Linked DNA regions of Homo sapiens: regions 1 and 3 are each linked to region 2. Evidence: promoter capture Hi-C in human tissues and cell types (Jung and others, 2019). All regions are on one chromosome and are shown on one strand. The core of a region is centred on a gene start or on the middle of the fragment in contact, and the rest is flanking DNA. Distances in the headings are between cores, read along the strand shown.

Region 1 (4,640 bases), core at 902-3,401, 310 kb after region 2:
TTTTTTATTCTTTATATGGCCAGGCTGAGAGTTCTCCAAATTTTTCTATTAGTCTTCACTTTTCATTATAAATTCCATCTTTAAATCATTTCTCTCTCCTCAACATTTTACTATATGTGCTTGAAAGAAGCCATGGAGCCCACTGAATGTTTTGCTGCTGAGATGTCTCTTCCATCAGATATCGTAGTTCACCTCTCTTAAATTCTGCCTTCCATAAAGCCAAAGGGCATGAACAGAATTCTGCCAAGTTTTTTTGCCACTTCATAACAAGGATGATCCTTACTCCAGTTTCCAATAAGACATTTCTCTTTTCCACCTGAGACCTCATCAGAATGGCGTTTACTCTCTATATGTCTACCAACATTCTCATCAGGACCATAAAAGTAATCTCTAAGAAGTTGCAGACTTTCCCTACAGTTATCCTCGCCTGAGACCTCAGTGGAATCACTCTTAATACAAAATTTGTGGCAATCTAGGCTTTTTCTAGCCTGCTCCTCCCATACCAATTTCCTGTCTTAGCCTGCTTTGTGCTGCTCTAACAAAATACCACAAACTGGGAAAATTATAAAGAAAGAAATTTATTCCTCAATTCTGGAGTCTGGGAAGTCCAATATAAAGGTGCCAGCATGTGGTAAGGGATTTCTTACTGTGTCATCTTATGGGAGAAGGGCAAAAAGAGAGAGAGAGAACGAGAATGGGGCTTAACTTGTCCTTGTATAAGGAATCAGCTCCTGTAATAACAAACCCACTACTCAATAATTGTGTTAAGCCATTTATGAGGGTTGTGCCTTCATGACCTAAACACTTCTTAAAGTTTCCACCTCCAAAAACCTCCACACTGGGGATCAAGCTTCTAACACATGAACTTTGGGGGACATATTCAAACCATAGCAGCCATGTATTTTACTAATTATAAAAAACAATAGTAACAACAACAATAATAAAAGGTATCATTTCTAGAACTCTTACTATATGCCTGGCTCTGGATAAAATGATTGACTTGCATTTGTGCATATATTAACTTAAGAAAATGCATGACAACCAATGAGCATATGAAAAGAAGCTCAATATCCCTGATCATTCAAGAAAAATTAATCAAAACCACAATGAGATATCATTGCACACCAGTCAGAATGACTATTATTAAAAAGTCGAAAAATAACAAATGCCAGTGAGGTTGTGGAGAAAAAGAAGTGCTTATACCCTATTGGTGGGAATGTAAAGTAGTTCAGCCATTGTGGAAGAAAATGTGGCAGTTCCTCAAAGATCTAAAGCCAGAACTACCATTCGACCCAGCAATCCCATTACTGGGTATATACCCAGAGGAATATAAATCATTCTGTTATAAAGACACATACATGCAAATGTTCATTGCAGTACTGTTCATAATAGCAAAGACATGGAATCAACCCAAATGCCCATCAATGATAGACTGGTAAGGAAAATGTGGTACATATACACCATGAAATACTATGCAGCCATAAAAAAGAATAAGATCATGTCCTTTTCAGGGATACGGATGGAGCTGGAGGCCATTATCTTTAGCAAACTAATACAGAAACTGAAAACCAAATACTGCCTGTTCTCACTTATAAGTGGGAGCTAAATTATGAGAACACGTGGACTCATAGAGGGGAACACCACACACTGAAGCCTCTTGGAGGGTGGAGGGTGGGAGGATGAAGAGGATCAGAAAAATAACTATTAGGTACTAGGCTTAATTCCTGGGTGATAAAATAATCTGTACAACAAACCCCCACAACACAAGCTTACTTATGAAACAAATCTGTGTTTGTACCCCTGAACTTAAAACGTGATTTCTGGGTGTGTCTGTGATGCTGTCTGAAAGAGATTAGCATTTAAATTGGTTGACTGAGAAAAGAAGATCATCCTCAACAATGTAGGTGGGTTTCCATTCATCTCTGGCCCTACTGCTGGGTCTGAGGACCATTCTTGGGACAGATGTAATTTAAAGCTGACACAGTGTTAAATGGTTGCATGAGAACCAGGTCTTGGGTGCTTTGGACTCAGATCTTCATCATCTCTTGGGGGAGCATAGTAGAGCTAGATATCAGAGTTCCATTCTACTGATTTTTTTTTTAACATCAATCATGTTATATCTAGTGAACATGGCTCCTTCCACCTCCATCTGCTTCTGTTCATGAGAACCAAACTAACTTTTCTCTGGTCTCTCTCTAAGGGTATGTGTTAGGGTGTGAGGGCAAGTGATTGTCTCCATTGATTTATTTCTTGTTATTTCATAGGCATAAGGAAGGGGGATCTAATTACTATTGGCTCAAGGAGCCATATTTAAGAAAGCAAACATTGGTTTTCTAAGTGAGTCATACAACTTGCATATAGTTAATTTTAGTTAATTTTTAAAAATTGAGGCAACTCATACCTGTTATTGAAATCCAACTATTTTCAATGAATACCAAGGTACTGTAGAAGAAAATTCCAGTTATATAGGATAATATCTGCTTTACTTTTTCTCATCCTAACAAGTTTTGATAATTATAAATGAAATTTAAATTCTGTTTTACTGTGAATCAAGAGTATAAAATTCTACTCTGGGCCTAGGTGATAAACAAAAGCTTTATTAGCACTTATTTGGAAAATTCAGATAGGGCAAGGTCTCTTTAAAATAATATTGGCGTCTGTTATTGAGCACTCAGCATGTGCAAAGCACAGTGCCAGGCATTTTTATACATTGTGCCATTTAACTAGCACAACAAAACTTCAAAGTGGTGGCATTACAGCCATTTAGAAGATTAAAAAGTTTTCAGTCCTTTAATTAAACGTAACAGTTTTGTAATGGCTACAATGTGAAAGAATGAAGCTAATAATTGTGTGCTGTTGTCATCTGAAATGCAACTGGACACTGTCACTAATTTTCTTATATATATCCACTCTTCCGTGATTTATTTGCTGTGTGTATGAATGTAATATGGCCCAGAAAAGAACCATGGCTCTCTGTTTTTATCTAAATTTCCTTTTCTTTTCTTTATATATTTTGAGAAATATATTTTTATTTAACTATTTAAAAATGAATCATCATTTTTCAGAAGCTAAAATACACAGATGGGTACAAACATCTGTGAGATGTTTTGAGATAGGGTCTTGCCCTGTCACCAAGGCTGGAGTGCAGTGGCACAACCATGGCTCAGTCCAGCCTCAGCTGCCTGGGCTCAAACAATCCTCCTCCTCCTGAGTACCTAGGATTTTAGGTACGCACCACCATGCCCAGCTATTTTCTTCTATGTTTTGTAGAAACAGAGTCTTGCTATGTTGCCTAGACTGGTCTGAAAGTCCTGATCTCAAACAATCCTCCCGCCTCAGCCTCCTAAAGTGCTGGGATTACAGGCATAAGCCACTATGTGCAGCTAACTAGATGGATTTTTATATCAAATTTGGAGAGTATATTTGGTATGGTTTGCCTTAATATATAGACACATATTTTGCAAATATCCATATAACTGTTCATGGCAGTTGTTCATTTACTTATTAGTTTGTCTGATATTAAAACTTTCAGTCTTCTGTTATTTTTGTGTGCTTGTATGTGATACTTATATCCCTATCTCTTTTTTTTGTTGTTATAAATAGTTTATCGTTGGATTTGACTTCTTCATACAAATCCAGCTACAGACCACTTATGGGAGAGATGTAATGGAATTAAACCATTTGTAGTACTGATTAGTACATTTGATCTTATGATTGATATTTTATTTTTGTCTTTTCTTGTTTATTTTGCTTTCGATTTATTTTCTTTCCTGACTTTGCTGAGCTGACCAAGACTTTATACTGCCTTTTCTTGTCACTCCAGTGGTTAAAAAAAAAAAAGTTCTTACCCGTATTTCTAATCTACTAGTAGTTATCATTGAAGTGTTTATAAAGCGAATTAAATTCATAATTTTCAGTAAACATAGCAAATTTAACAAGATTGATTATAATACTCCTGCTCCAAGAGGACCTCATTTATTATAAAATTATTTTCTCCCAGAGCTCTTCCTAGCTCTTAGATTTTGTTGAAAACATCTAGAATTTACTTCCAAACTACTGCTGATGGTTCTTTACATTATTAGTCATATAATTCATTTACTTATATTTTTAAATAAAATTCAAAACCACATAAACAAAAATTGTTTAAACAAGTAAAAGTTTTGCTGGTTTGAGTGCTCACTCACCACTGCTGCTTATTTGCCATGCTGTGCCTTTTATTGGTTGTTTTATCTTGACTTGGCTCAATTTTTTTCAGGAAAGATGCAAGTGTCGCAGTATTTCTGAGCCATGGCATTGTCCATAAATGACTTGATTTTACCCTCACACTTCAATGATAAAATGGCTGAACATATAAGATTTACACTTGTTTCTCTTCAGAAATCTGTGAATACTACTTTATTACCTTCTAACTGGAGAAAGGAAACCTTTGTTTCTGCTTGTTGCCCATAGGTTAAAAGCTGCCTATGGTTATCTGAAATACAGTTCTGACAATTCTTTGAAAATTCACTGGTGCTCAAAGACAAAAACAAATAAGGTGAAAGTTTTTAAGTCTGTATATGGAGTTAAGGATTTCCTCTTTTTGCTACTTTGAAGCATTTTTAAATTGACACGGCAATCTTTAAAGGGCTTTTCTAACCTTG
Region 2 (4,548 bases), core at 172-2,671:
GGCTTCCTAATTAGAACTCCTCTTAATCCACATAAGGGTGATGAAAAATTGAATTTCTTTACTCATGGTCCCCAGAATCAAGGTTGGGAGAAAACTGTTTGTATCTTTGGGGCATTGGTATTAGCCAATTCCTGACAAGAAAATGGTGATAAGAAGACACTGGAGAACTCATCAATTTTTCAGGGAAAAATGGAGACAGAGTTTACTGAGAATTTATTGGGATTTACCTGATATTACGAGGGGAACATCTTCCTGGCTGACATCTAGAAAAGAAGTACAGGATGATGGGAAAAGTTACTTCCTGAATCATTCAAGGCTCATAGTGTTCTACGAGGATAAAGGACCTCTGATCACACCCTGTGCATCCCCTTTGTGATCTCATCAGCCACTCTCTGATGCTACTGGAAGTGGAAGAAGATGTAAGGGAAAGCAGTATTGTTACTACACTGAGCGTCAACCAGGAACTCAACATAGAAGGGCCCCTGTTTGTCCTCTTTTGATTCCCCAAGCCTTGATGAGGAATGAAGATACAATAGGTCTTCTGATCCTCGGCATGAAAATTCTGCAGTCCCATCTGTTTTCTCATCCTCCTCTCTTCCCTCCACTTTCCTCCTCTATAGCATTTGCCTGTAAACCCTTAGCGCTTATTTAGTTAAACTGCTCTGAGTATTTCAATGACATATTTGGGGATTCTTCTGCCCTCTTTCATCTGTAAATATGTTGTTTATGTTTGCAAGCCTTCTCAACAGGAGCCACCAGACATAGCCACTTGGATATAATCTTACGCATGCCATTCCCAGCACATTGAAATACTACATTCAGGAGACAGAAAAATGACAATGTTTCACTCTGGTTATTCTCTAACTCTATGTAGACAGAGACAAGTGTTTACCCAATTCTCTGCCTCGGCAGTAGCTCTGACATGTGTTTATCTCCTTCATTAATGCTCATCCACTGTACAGCAAGGCCACCATCATCCCTGTCTACTGGGATCAGTACAGGATCTTCACAGCTGTACTTCCCTGAATCTGTCTTGCATTCTCCACATCCTTCACAGCAGTCCCATGTCTCTATATAATGCAAATCTCACTCTCTCACACCCCTAGTACGAATTCTTTATTGGATTCTATTTGTGCAACAAATAAACTATGAGGCCTTGATGAGGAATGGAGGTACAATAGATCTTCTGATCCTCAGCATGAGAACTCTGCAGTCCCATCTGTTTTCTCATCCTCCTCTCTTCCCTCCACTTTCCTCCTCTATAGCATTTGCCTGTAAACCCCAATCAGAGTCACAATATCTTCCCCCAATTCATCTTACCTTCATTTAAATCCTGAGCTGAGCTGAAGGCCAGCAGGGCCACTGACAGCAGAATCAGAAGCATCTTGCAGGAGGCTCTGGTGTCACTCCCAACTTTGTGCTGGGAGAAACGTGTCAGCTCCCTTTATAAAGACAAGCAGGACAATGGTGCATTTGAGCTCCCTACCAGGTGGGCCTCCTCGCCTCAGAGACTGGCTTCTGCTTTGCTTACTTCAGGTCAAGTGTATCCCTCATTTCTTTTGGGACTCTAGCTCAGCAGGAAGGGTTGGGTAGGATATTGTTTGTGTCTAATTCCTAAAAGGCACAACTATGACTTGGACAAATGTTTTGACGGAACTGTGTCCAAGCAGTCGGCACAGTGTCAGGATTGAACTTTAGACATCTTTTGGTTTTCAATCTGTTTGGAAAGACTGCTATTCTGCTTTTCACTGTGCTTTTCATTTCTGTGTATGTGAGTTTGTGTGGGTGTGTCGGGGGGTGGACACTGATCCTACAGCTAACAGTGAAGATGGTCAATATCTCTGACTGTTTTGATAGCCTCTTTCCATCTCTCATGATGTGTGTGCGTGGATATTTTCACATTTAGCTAAATTTTTCATGTAACAGAGATGGTCTTGCTTATCTGTGAGATGTGTGAGGACAGCACACTCCCAGGCACACATATATGAGAGAAAGGTGCTGGCAGCCTGCTCAGGCTACAAGAATTGTCCAAACTTCTGTGAATCTCACTACACTCAGGCAAGCCTTGGTGCTATACAACACAGGCAAGCTAAAATATTTGTATTTTAAAAATATCTTTAGGGTTTATTAAAGCAAAACTGAACTCAGAAACCACCAAGGAATTTCTAGACCTGAACAAACTGAATATATGGTTCCCTAAGTGAGCCACACGATGTCATATAGCTAAGACCTCCACTTTCTCCAGAATATTCCATAGAATTCATCCTCTACTTTATTTCTTCTAATAAATATTGTAATTGTCATCACTGATAATTAAATGGCCACAATTATACATTCATCTAAGATAATTTGTAATACCTGTCCAAGCCTCAATTGCCTTGATTGGTCTTCTGCTTTTACTCAGTAATTATGTCACCTGTTTCATCAGAGTGTTCTTTCTCACCAAGGATTTTTATCTGTAATATTCCAATACTCATTCTTTCTCATTCTTTTTCTCGCACTTATTTGTTGAAATTTTGTATTCTGAGTCTACCTTGCCATGTTTACTTTTCGTCCTATATCTTTTTTTTTCTCCCTACAAAGGTGTCCTTTATTTATCCTTCTAAGTAAAGGTGTGTGGTACTCCTCACTACCTTTACTTTCATTTTTGTCTGTATAATTTGACAATAAAAAATTAAGTTTCCAAAAAGCCCTGTCAGGGTCCTGGTTTGGTAGCTCTCTCCTCAGCTGCTGATTGCTCCAAAAATTAAGTTTCCAAAAAGCCCTGTCAGAGTCCTGGTTTTGTCGCTCTCTCCTCAGCTGCTGATTGCTCTGTGATACCTAGAAATTCCCTGCTCATCAATTCATAAAATATACTACTCAGAATCACCAGCTGCACTTTCCATTTCAGACCTTGAGTAGGTCTTGTGTAATTTTTCACTTTTTGTGCATGGTTAGTCTTTATTTGAGGATAGCTTGGTTGGAGGCATGGCTGAGAAGCCAGGTGACAGAAAATCATAAAGACAAGGCCCTAGACAGGTGTGCATGAGTGGATCCTGTGCTGGGCATATGAGGGTCTGGTATGGCTCTTCTGAAAAGTTGCAGATAATAATACAAGAAGGCTTCCTAGTAGATTAGATTTTGCTACAGACGACATTGTTCTTGTAAGGGACCCAGGCAGATTGGTATTTTCCCTGGAATAAATATAGACCTATTTCAGGGGGGAATGCATTCTTAATTGGCAATTCTTCTCTGGCCCTGTGGGAAGTAGATCAGCTCTAGCTGGGCCGTATGAGTTGTATCTCAGGCACAGAGTAGTTGCTTGAGCCCAGCAGCTCCCAATGCGTTATGGAGATTATTGTCTCTGGTTTCACCAGGTACTGTTTCCCATAGGACCTGGAGATGAGCAGTCCTGCCTCGGTGACTTCAGGTCAACCATCATGTCAAAAAGGAAGGTCAGAGAAAAGGAACAAAGAGGAGTGCCAGGCAGATATTGCCTGATGATGTGGGGGACTGAGGAAGCTGCAGGCCTGGTGCAAGACAGGTTTCTCCTTGGCAGCAGAGTACAGGAAAAGAACAGGAAATCCTCCTAAAGGTCACTCAGCTCAGGCCTGCTCCCTAACCTGCTCCAATGTCAGCAATCAGCGAGAGACTAGTGTATCAGGAAAGCATAAATATCAGCTATGCTCTCACTAGACACATCAAAAACAGAGGTAATGGAAGAGCTGAAAGGGACACTGTCTGTGAGTGAAGGTGGGTGAAAGGGAGACGCAGGACTGCTGCAGGAGCTTGGGTACCTAGAGGTGGGTGGCAGCCCTCAGCACCACACTTGCCTTCTACTATAGATGTTCATATTCTGAGGCCCTGAAGGGCCAGTCTTCAACATATGAAATTTTAGGATTCATCTCTCATAACACATCCCAACATTTTCTCGGTCACTGACAGGTGTTTACCTAGTGGTTCAAAAATCCTCGCTCCCTCCAGGAACTTATGCATTAGCCGATCTAATTGCCTCCACTTTCAAAATACGTCCCAAATATGACCACTTGCCTGATCTTTACTAGAAGGTGATTGTTCAGCCATGATGCTCTCTCCTGGAGGACTTTACCAGCCTCCAGCTGGTCTTGGTAATGTTCTTCCCCCAGCTCATCCCATATCAGTTCCCTCACAACAATCAGAGTGATCATTTAAAAGTAGAAATTAGGTTATATCACATTTGTGCTTCAAATCTCCTGTTTTTTCTTCTGCACTTGTGATAAGATCCAAATTTCATGCCTCAGCTCTTTCACACCCACATGCCTCACTCTTTTTTGAAAACCAGGAAGCTCTCTGAATGGAACAGAAAGTAGAATCTTCTTCGACTTCACCATGCTCTAGTTTGCCTGGAACACTAAAGATGGTTTGCCAGGAAAGATGAACATTGACAGAGGGAATAAACTTCTCTGAGAGTCAGTGAGTTTCATTGGGTCGCTGTGGTCTGGCAGTGTTATGAATTGGCAGAATTATTCTATTAATTGCACCAACTAAGCATTCTGATAATACAGTTAGCAAATAAACACAATAGTCTCT
Region 3 (4,293 bases), core at 1,004-3,503, 290 kb after region 2:
AAAAATAAAAATTTAAAAACTACACTGTATACACGGTATACCTCAACTGTGAATAATAGTAGTCATGTAAAGTCAGTCATAATTATGTAAATACTGAATACTGATTTTACAACAAATGATTCTATAACGCTGGGAGGATGGGAGAAAAGAGATGTGTGTGTGTGTAATGGTGGTGAGCCAATCAAGATCTGATATAGAAAAATGCAGAAAAAGGAGTATACACATGTTTTCTTCGGATTAAAAAAACTAATAATAAATCACCAAGAGTGGTAAAGTTTTAAATCAAGATCTGATATAGAAAAGTGCAGAAAAAGTAGTATACGCATTTTTTTTTTCAGGAAAAAATTAACTAATAAACCACTAAGAGGGGTAAAGTGTTAAAATAGTTGCATTGTTCTATATTCCACTCATTGTGTCCAGCAAACAGTGTTCTATGGCTTTAAGTAGTAAGCATCTTGCCCCGTCCAACACCATGTCTGGCCTAGGGTAATTGTTCTTTCTAGTCTTTATTCTTTGTCTCCAGCCAAACTCCATTTGGGCACATTCTCCTATAGCCTTTTCTACCTGAAGATACTCTGTGTTTTAAAGCTAAGCTTAGGTGGCGCTTTTTCCATTAAATTTTTCCTGGATTCCACTGACCATATAGGAGCTCACTTCTTTTAATCCATAAGGCCATTTTCATAGGTTGCCTTATTTTTCCCTAATCGTGCATCAACTGTCTGTTTTATATACCCAAGACAGGTTTCCTAGACTGCGATAAGCCAAAACATTTTAGTCTAAAATATCAGAAGTGTAGTTTAATCAATGAAATAGTAATACCAAGGGATTTAGAATCGTGGACATCACTGTTTCCCAGAGCACTGATGTCCCAATTTGTAACACAAAAGACTGTCTAGTCTTAATCCTGAAATGGTGACAGAGTAGGATGCTCCATTTGGGTGACTATGTGAACATATTCCTATAACTTTTTTCCTCACATCAGTCATTTGTTAAACCGAAGATGAAGAAACAGACTTTGTATTTATTACATCCTCCAACATAATTGGCAGCTCTGTGAGGGAAGACACTATATCCTATTCAATTTTACACCCGGTAGTAACAGTATGTGTGTGTACTGTATATATACATATATATATACATACACATATATAAATTTAAGTAGTAACTATATATGTATATATGTATAGTTACTACTTACTATATATGTATACAGTATATAAGTATATATGTATAGTTACTACTTACAATATATGCATAAAGTTACAGCTTACATTTACCTCGTAATATATGTATATATATATATTAGGAGTTAAATGTATTAGGAGGTAAATGTAAACTCTGTGGTTTATCATTTATTCACAATTGCTCTTAATTCTTGGGGTATAGTTTGCCTCCTACATGATGCAATTCAGTGAAATTCCCAGGAGACAAAACAAGATTTTGACCTGAATAAACCACTTATTGTTGTAATTCACAAGTGAGTTTATTCTTCCTGGCACACTTCCAGGTAATATCCATTAGGCTAAGGATTTTGTTTGTTCACTGTTCTATCCCCAAGCCTAGAGCACTGCCCAGTGCGGAATAGCTAATAAATATTGTTGAATGGATAGATGAATGGCAATTTTGTTGGTATGCTCTACATAGTCAGCAGTCAATAAAGGAAACATATATTCGTTCCTGATAATAAGATGATTCACTTTATTGCCCATAAATTGGGCTTTTTCAGGCCATCATGCACGTTGATTGATCCAGAGATCCCTCAAGCATGAAAAAGCAGAGACATAGGTGGTATAGTTATTATCAATAGAGATAAGAAATGTAGCTGGCAAAAAAAAAAATGGGAAACGATGCGTTACAGCTTATTTTAACTATAAAAGGAAAACAGTGAACATAGCAACATATGTAACCTAAGGGATAGGGGAAAAGTTGTTTTTTTTTTTTTAATTCTGGGTAAAAATACATGTGATTACTTGACAAATAGCATATCATTACCATCAGCATCATTTTTAAAATATATTGAGTTTTTAATACCAGGAACTATGAAAAACTATTTATATACATGAGCTCCGTAATTCTCACATATACCCTGTGAGGAAAACATTTTTATCATTTTTCAGAGAAGCAAACCGGGATTTAGAGAGGTTAAGTAAATTCCTAAGGTCATGATAACCAACCAGACCTCAAATGAATCTCCAGTAATTCCTAAAGTTATATTTCATAAGGAGTTCAATTTTCTTAAATGTGTAGATAATTACAAATAATTCTGTTTCTCAAATTTCTGGACAGAAATATTACCTGGGTAATAGTTATTTTTTTTAACATAACTATTGAGGGTCTTTCATACTAAAATATAAATATTTAACATGATTTGATATGTAAGTTCAAGTATTTTATACTCTCTGCAGCCTTAAACCTATTGGCTTATTTTATTAGAGGGTTGGTGGGATTGAGGGATATGGGAGCAAAGGGAGAGAGAGGAAAGAACGTTGTCCTCAGAATGGAAGGGAAACACTTTCCTGTGCTACCCAGAGTAGAGATCAGACAATGTTAAATTTTGAAGCCATGTCTGTTCCTGTCCTGAGGATCCCTAACTAAATTTTGTTAGAAAATCTTGCAGTTTGCTTTTAATGGGAGATCTTTCTGGCAGGACATCAATAGCTTTTGATAGCGTCAAGAAGAAAATAAAGTTACATGCAGAAGCATAAAGGGGTAGGATGAAAGTTGAGGAATATAGGGACAAAAGATGAGGGAAAGGAATATCCTAATACTTGGAAGTTTGAGCATGGAAAGTAGTCTAAAGACGACTTGGGAAGTTCCAAGAAAATGAACCAAGAAAAGAACCTCTGCAAGAACTATGAGAATTCCCAACAATTGGGTTGGATTGATTCATATTAGTCTATTACTTGGGTTACCTTGAGTGTGGGGATTCTTCTTGCAGTTTTAACACTTGTACTATGGTCTGAATGTGCCCCCCAAAAATTCACATGTTGGCATTTAACCCCCAAAGTGATGATCTCAGGAGATGGGACCTTTGGGAGGTGATCAGGTCATAAAGATGAAACCCTCGTGAATGGGATTAGTGCCTTTATAAAGGAGACCCCAAAATAATTCCCTTACCCCTTTTGCCATGTAAGGTTATAGGGAAAAGTCATCTATGAACAAGGAAATGAACCCTCACCAGATACCAAATTTGTGAATGCCTGGATCTTGGACTTCCCAGCTTCTAGAACTATAAGAAATAAATTTCTGTTGTTCATAAGCACCCATTTTATGGTATTTTTTATAGCAGCCTGAACAAACTAGACTTAATAGGATTTGCTCAGCAGGATTACCACCAGGTCAAGTCATGAGATCTTTTCAAAATATAAGTAAACCTCCCCTTACCCCTACTCTCCACAAATACAAATTTCAGCAGTGCTCTTGGGACAACTAAAAGGCCCAAGGACCTTCCCAAAAGCCTACTACAAATGAAGAAACTATGGAAGTCTTAGTAGCTTAATTGCAGGACATCCCTGCCAGTTTCTATCCTGATTAGGGATCTGCAATGAACATTACAAAATCTTCACCATCTCCATGGCTTTCAACACCAAGCATATGGACTTAGCCACTGTAAAATAGTGGCATGCATCAATGAACAATAAAGAGAAATGGAGATCATTCATATTATTAGTGAGGGAAGTTGGGTACAACTTTTCATCAGCCAAAAAGAGGGAGAAAAAAATCACACCACCAAATAATGAAATACTGTAACTAAGATCATTGGCAGAGAATTAGAGATTATGTTCAGCAGATTAAAAAAAAAAAGAAAACAGCTGTGATCATGCCACTGCACTCCAGCCAGGGCTGCAGAGCAAGACCCTGTCTCAAAAAAACAAAAAGCCAAAAATACGAGATGCTTAAAAAAAGAACTGTTGTTCAAGAGATCATTTTCACTTTTTAATTGGTTTTTGAAAACTGTGAAAGTATCTCAAACTGAAGTCTAAAAGGAAAATAATAGAAGCTTCAAAGTTCAGGGGCCAGGTTATATCTATATAAAAGGGAAGCTAACTTATTTCCAGAACTGATTCATTTATTAAACATGGGGCTAAGGAATAGAGGTGGCAATATACAAGTCAGGATAATGCCTTTGTCTTCTGAAGCTGCATCTACATTGGTGCCCCTCAAAATAGCTAAAATTGAAAATAGTTTATCTGTCACCTGGGATTTCTTCTACAAATAACCTTCCCAAAAAAATATTGCCTAACATTTTTCTGAATTTATCAAGCCAACCATCTGATCAGTTTTCTAAATGAA

The links. Contacts are between HindIII fragments. The study calls those that stand out against the background at their distance.
Region 1: a fragment that was not itself captured here is called in contact with the fragment with the promoter of PRH1 in region 2 in 3 of the 25 tissues and cell types used here (H1 embryonic stem cells, mesenchymal stem cells and spleen).
Region 3: a contact is called between a fragment that was not itself captured here and the fragment with the promoter of PRH1 in region 2, in 1 of the 25 tissues and cell types used here (spleen).

What each region holds. Positions count from the first base shown.
Region 1 is chr12:11,191,507-11,196,146 of GRCh38, forward strand. The region is part of intron 1 of LOC107987435 (a long non-coding RNA gene); the gene reads left to right. It also overlaps the pseudogene LOC100420583. Among named protein-coding and RNA genes, the nearest start is that of TAS2R42, 6.9 kb to the left of the region's middle. The HindIII fragment of the contact is 3,631 bases long and covers 337-3,967 here.
Region 2 is chr12:10,882,834-10,887,381 of GRCh38, forward strand. PRH1 (proline rich protein HaeIII subfamily 1) reads right to left here and starts at 1,422. Exons shown (of 4, transcript NM_001393989.1): 1 at 1,321-1,422; 2 at 228-263. The coding sequence starts at 1,384. PRH1-PRR4 (PRH1-PRR4 readthrough) reads right to left here. Exons shown (of 10, transcript NR_037918.2): 5 at 1,321-1,442; 6 at 228-263. The HindIII fragment of the contact is 11,699 bases long and covers 1-4,548 here.
Region 3 is chr12:11,172,755-11,177,047 of GRCh38, forward strand. It overlaps SMIM10L1 (small integral membrane protein 10 like 1), which reads left to right. Exons shown (of 1, transcript NM_001271592.2): 1 at 1-3,262. Among named protein-coding and RNA genes, the nearest start is that of PRH1-PRR4, 3.3 kb to the left of the region's middle. The HindIII fragment of the contact is 4,439 bases long and covers 35-4,293 here.